Regions from separate parts of the Homo sapiens genome. Here region 1 is linked to region 2. The links are contacts of gene promoters, found by promoter capture Hi-C in blood cells and fetal thymus (Javierre and others, 2016). All regions are on one chromosome and are shown on one strand. The core of a region is centred on a gene start or on the middle of the fragment in contact, and the rest is flanking DNA. Distances in the headings are between cores, read along the strand shown.

The links. Contacts are between HindIII fragments. The CHiCAGO score rates a contact against its expected background, and 5 or more counts as called.
Region 1: a contact is called between the fragment with the promoter of ATXN10 here and the fragment with the promoter of GTSE1 in region 2, in 2 of 17 cell types (total CD4 T cells and fetal thymus). The highest score is 6.5, in total CD4 T cells.

Annotation. Positions count from the first base shown.
Region 1 is chr22:45,670,276-45,673,116 of GRCh38, forward strand. ATXN10 (ataxin 10) reads left to right here and starts at 1,559. Exons shown (of 12, transcript NM_013236.4): 1 at 1,559-1,904. The coding sequence starts at 1,789. RefSeq lists silencers at 1,232-1,421, 1,482-1,531, 1,862-2,191. The HindIII fragment of the contact is 13,202 bases long and covers 1-2,841 here.
Region 2 is chr22:46,295,490-46,298,330 of GRCh38, forward strand. GTSE1 (G2 and S-phase expressed 1) reads left to right here and starts at 1,381. Exons shown (of 12, transcript NM_016426.7): 1 at 1,381-1,442; 2 at 1,891-1,990. The coding sequence starts at 1,912. It overlaps GTSE1-DT (GTSE1 divergent transcript), which reads right to left and starts at 1,171. Exons shown (of 1, transcript NR_024009.1): 1 at 1-1,171. RefSeq lists a silencer at 1,439-1,638 and an enhancer at 1,789-1,898. The HindIII fragment of the contact is 11,600 bases long and covers 1-2,841 here.

The DNA.
Region 1 (2,841 bases), core at 309-2,808, 630 kb before region 2:
TTTGCATTGTCTTGAGCACTGCTACTAATAAGTGATCTAATACCTGGCACATAGTACACCGCAATATTCGTGGAATGAATAAATACATACTCAATTAAATGGGTAAACTGAATGACAATATCAAGTAACTTGCTTGTGCAGCAGCATTCATTTCCCTCCCTCCTTTTTTTTTTTTTTTTTTTTTTTTTTTGATACAGGGTATCATTCTGCCACCCAGGCTGGAGTGCAGTGGTGTGATCACAGCTCACTGCAGCCTCGACCTCCTGGGCTCAAGTAATCCTCCTGCCTTGGCCACCCAAAGTGCTGGGATTACAGGCATGAGCCACCATGCCCCACCAGGATTCACTTTTTCTGCATACTCTGGTGGTGTTTATTGTTATCTTTACATTTTATTTAGCAAAGAATGTTAAAAGCGCCATGTTATAAGCACACTCCTACCCTCCAAGCAGAATGTAAAGGGTATGTATTTATATATTTTAAGTGGTCCCACAGCAATTTGTACAGTTATAGCAGTTCACAACTATACTCAGTTATGTTTGCTTCTCTCCTTCTCAATAGTCTGTGAGGTTCCTTCAGGTTTGGAACTGTCTTTTATTAATCTTTACATCTCCAGCACCTAGCGCAGGGCTTAGCAACAATTTTTGTTGAAAGTATATACACTGTAATAAAGGGCAGTGGAAAGAAAATATGTGAGTTATCAACACCAGCTAGAGAAGCCTTGTCTGATTCCTGTGAAATATATTCATTTCCCTTAGGAAAAAAAACAATTCTAACCCTATTGCTGTGTAACTTAGCTTCTTGACTTCGAACGGTATTTTAAGGCTTTGAGGAGCTGGAGCAATGTATACTCACTAGAGGCAAAGTGCCTGGTAAGTGGTCTGGTATTGATCAGCAATGATCAGTAAGTACTGGGAAGTGCGTTTTCAGGGCCTGAGACTTGCAAGCTAGTGACAGACCGCTCCAGCTTCCAGTGGACCCGGGCGGGGGCACTGATCAACCCACTTGAGCAGTGGGATCAAGGTCTTCAGCCTTAGCAGTGGGAGCCTCTGCCCGGCCCCCTTCGTTCCCGAGACCCTCAGTCAGCGTCTCCTCCCAAGAGGGTCCCCTCCACCCAGAATGTCCTCCCCTGGGGGAGACCACTCTGTCTGCGGGCCCCCTCCCACAGGAGGGCCCCTCTTCCTCAAGGTGAACCTCTGTCCCCGATACCCGCTCCCAAGACCGAGACCTTGTTACGGCCCCACCCTCCACAGGCCCCTTACCCCCCGGATCCCCTCCCCTGGGGGAGACCCCTCTGTCCGCGGGCACCCTCCTATAGGACGCGCCCCTCTTTCTCAGGGTGAACCTCTGGTTCCCGATACCCGCTCCCAAGACCGAGACCCTGTTACGGCCACATCAACACAGGTCCCCCTCCCCCCGGCGTCCCCTCCCCTCGGAGGAGCCCCGTCTGCGACGCTTCCCAGTCAATCACCCCCAGCATCCCTCCCCGCTCTCACCCAGAACTTCCGCCGCGCCCCCTCCCCTCAGGCGGGACTTCCGCCGGCGCCCCCTCCCCCGCGGCGCCGTCTCCTCCTCCCGCCTGAGGCGAGTCTGGGCTCAGCCTAGAGCTCTCCGGCGGCGGCGCAGCTTCAGGGCAGCGCGGGCTGCAGCGGCGGCGGCGGTTAGGGCTGTGTAGGGCGAGGCCTCCCCCTTCCTCCTCGCCATCCTACTCCTCCCTCCTCGTCATCCTCCCCCTTCGTCCTCCTCGCCTTCCTCCTCCTCGTCAGGCTCGACCCAGCTGTGAGCGGCAAGATGGCGGCGCCCAGGCCGCCGCCTGCCAGGCTGTCGGGCGTCATGGTGCCGGCGCCCATCCAAGACCTGGAGGCCCTGCGCGCGCTCACGGCGCTCTTCAAAGAGCAGCGGAACCGGTAACGGGTCCGGCCGGGGGGCTGCCCCGGGCAGGGGAGGGCGGCCGGGACTCCCGCGGCGGCCCCGGCCTGGACCCAGGCGCCGCCCCCGCCTCGCTGGAGACGCGGAGGGCGAGGCCTGCGCGGGCTGCCTGAGCGCCACCCAGGCCTCCCGACTCCCAGGCACCGCCTCGTGCTCGTGGGTCCCCGCGGGGCCTGGGGCGGGCGCCCCGCTCCCCCACCGCAGCCAGTCCGGGTGCGAAGCCGCGATCCCGGGAGCCCTTGCCGCGGCGTGCCGGTGATGTTGACCCAACACACGGTTAGGCCTCCCCTGTCATGTGCGAGGGCTGCGCCAGGCCCTGGCTGCAAGACCCACGCGGCCCCCAGAGTCATAAAGCGTGTGTTTTAGCGGGAGAGACCCGTGTTACGGACGCGGGAATTGGGCAGTTGCGGGGATGGCAGTCTCTAGGCATGGAGTGGGACTGGCACTCCTTTCTCCTCGGCGTTAGAGCCCAGGCTGCACCATCTGCCCTGGGGGCAGCGCTCTGTGCAGTGTGGAAGAGCACGGGCCTGGAGAGACCAGTCCAGTCCTGATGCCACTGAGGGGCAAGATAGCCAGGCAAAAAGAGAAGGTGCCCAGGAGTCGACAGTTGTGGATTTGGTTCCTGGCCTTGCAAGCTGCGTGTTACTGTGCAGTTTCTCCAGGCCTTAGAATTCTTGTCTAAAAATGGGACTATAATACACAGCTTAGTTGCTGGATTGTACAGAGGAATAAATGAAATAAAGTACGTGAAAATATAAAATGTGCGAAGCCCTCAGTCAATGCTTGTTTGATCTTGTTCTGTCCTCTGGGCCTCAGTTTTCTTGTCTATTTAATGGGAGTAAAGTTGAACAGTACCTCCCTGGTGATAGTGTCATAAGGAGTAAATGAGATATAATGCATATTAAATCCTTAGGA
Region 2 (2,841 bases), core at 131-2,630:
ACAGCAAATCCTATTGGGGGCAGAAATGAATCTGCCATACATAGGCCACACCTACTATGTGCTGACATGATACAGGGAGAGGAGTATCAGGAATGACTGTTGGGGATCCCTCTGCCATTCTCCCATGAGCAGACATCCCCAGGATGAGCTGAGGGGAATGCAATGAGCAGGCCAAACTCTTTCCAAGCTGTTTGACCACACCCACCTACCCCAGCACTCTCAGCCCCTGCCTGGTGCCCTGTGCTGAGCTGGGTGAGGCTGGGGAGACTGGTGAGTGAGGGCTGCCCTGCCCTTTTTGAGCCCCCAGTCTTCTGGTGAAGGAACATAGCAACATGGAGTGATTGGTATGGATGATGCAAAACCAGGGACATGGGACCCAGAAGTGCCCGAGCCAGCCTGGAAGGCCTCTGCCCTGGGCCCCGGGTGGCTGTTTGCTGCACAGCTCTCCCCACAGCCTGCCCCAAATAAACAGCTTATCTTCGTCCCTGAAAATGGTGCTCTCGAGTTCCATCCTTTTCAGAGCGGGTCCTCCCAGACTCCTCTTCCTGCATCCTCCTCCATCCCGCTTAGTGACACTTTGCCGTGGGTGGAGCCCCTCATTTGATCCTCAAGCCCCCGAGGTGGGTATTATACCTCGTTCGCAGGCAAAGGCTCAAGCGAGGTCAGTCTTAAGTTGCTGCCCACTGACCCGTCTACCAGTCCTGTCCTTGCGTCTCCATGGCTCAGGTCAGGGTTATCCTATCTGCTTCCCACCTCTCTCCAACACATGCACTCCCCAAGGCAGGCTCCATCACCGGGCCCCAGCCCCTGGCTCTCTCCTCCAACGCAGCTCCCCAGCCGGCCTGTAAAACCGAGGACAGGCTCCCGCCACGCCCTCGGCGGTCCTCAGGCCTTGGCGGTTGGGGAAGCCCGCCAAGGGCGACGGTTCCCCTCCAGCCCCACAGGCTGTGCAGCTCCGGCAATGAGTCTCCCTCAGGTCTCTGGGTCAGCCGGCGCCCCAGTGCGTGCCTCGGGGGCAGGGATCCCGGCTTTTCACTACTGTTAGTAACAGCTCGCGCGCGCTGCTTCACAGCAGGTGGGTGAGCCTACTTTTAGTCTTCCCATCGACACCCTTAGATGGCAGTTTTAACTTTCTCCCTACACACAAGGAGCTGCTATACATGGTTCCGGCTTGACGCGGATACCTAGTGACACTTGGCGGCCAGGCCGGGCAGACTTCCGGGTGGGTGATCCCTGGCGCTGTGCGGAGCCATTCGCTGCGCTGAAGCAGTGCGCATGCGCACTGGACGCTTCTTACCAGCGTCCTGACTACAATACCCAGGACGCACCCAGCCCGCCGCCTCTCGGAGCCCTTTTCAAACCGACCAATCGGCAACCCGCGTCTCCCGGCGCCGCGTTTAAATCCGTGCCGGAGGCGCGTCCTGCATCGTCTGCCGCTTTGGGTAAGGTGGGGTCAGGGTCGGGGGCGAGGCTTGCCCGGTGGGCCCGGTGCGGCGCGGTGCCCGCCGTTTTCGGGACGGGGAGGGGCCGCGCCCCGCCAGGAGCCGGGCCTGGGCTCGAGCAGGGGTCACTGAGGCCCCTCGCGCCGTGGTCGGGGATGCCGGGAGGTCTAGGGCTGCCCCCCAGGCAAACAGAGCCCCCAACACTCTGGCCCAGAAGCCGAGAATTCCGTTATCTCGTCTGATGGCGTTCGGGCTGACTCCCGGCCTGGCGGCACTCGGGCCCTGGGGTCCCCTGGGATGCGATCATTTCAGAGCGGCCCCCGCGCCGCCTCTCCCAGACCTGGCCGCGGCCTTCAGCTCTCTCTGCCTCTGTGAGCCGAGGGCTGAAGGAAGCCGGAGCCCTGGGCCCTGACACGTACTCACTTTCTGGCCCCGTTCCACCCTGCAGTGACTTCTGACAGCTCTCTCCATGGAAGGAGGCGGCGGCCGCGATGAGCCTTCAGCCTGCCGGGCAGGGGACGTGAACATGGATGACCCTAAGAAGGAAGGCAAGTCCTTGCTGCTGCGGCGCTGTTGTTGTTCAGGATGTTCAGTAGAGATGGAGGGTGATTTAATGTTTCCCTGAGAAATTCTTTCTCAAGTGCTCGACTTGTACTCTGCACCTGTGAAACACATGACATCTGCCTTCGTTTTCTGGTTTTCTTTCACCTCCTCCCCATTTTAAGTTTCATCACAGCCAGGATTCTCATCCGTTTTATTTACCGCAGTGCTCCCATGCCCTGAACAGCACCTAACACTTTGTGGGCTCTCAAATATTTATTGTATTGAATTCGATGTTTTCTTTTTTGTTTGTCGCTGGTTTCTGTTTGCTAAGACTTATTTAGGATCTTTGAGACCATGTTAATGAGTAAGCCTGGCCCCAAACCCCTTTCTTCTTGTGTCTTTGACTGGTTTGGGTATCAAGGTGAGGGTACAGCTTCACAGAATGAGTTACAGGCCACACCCTCTTTTTCTCTCAAAGCGTTTTTATTTATTTATTTATTTATTTATTGACGGAGTCTCGCTCTCTCACCCAGGCTGGAGTGCAAAGGCGTGATCTGTACTCACTGCAACCTCTCTCTCCTGAGTTGAAGGGATTCTCCTGCCTCAGCCTCCCTAGTAACTGGGATTACAGGCACCCGCTGCCACACCTGGCTCATTTTTGTATTTTTAACAGAGACGGGGTTTTGCCATGTTGCCCAGGCTGGTCTCGAACTCCTGAGCTCAGGCAATCTGCCTGCCTCGGCCTCCCAAAGTGCTAGGATTATAGGTGTGAGCCACCTCACCCAGCCTCACAAAGCATTTTGACATCCCTTGGGTAGTTTTCTCACACTACCCAAGGATCCTTTCTTTTTGAGAC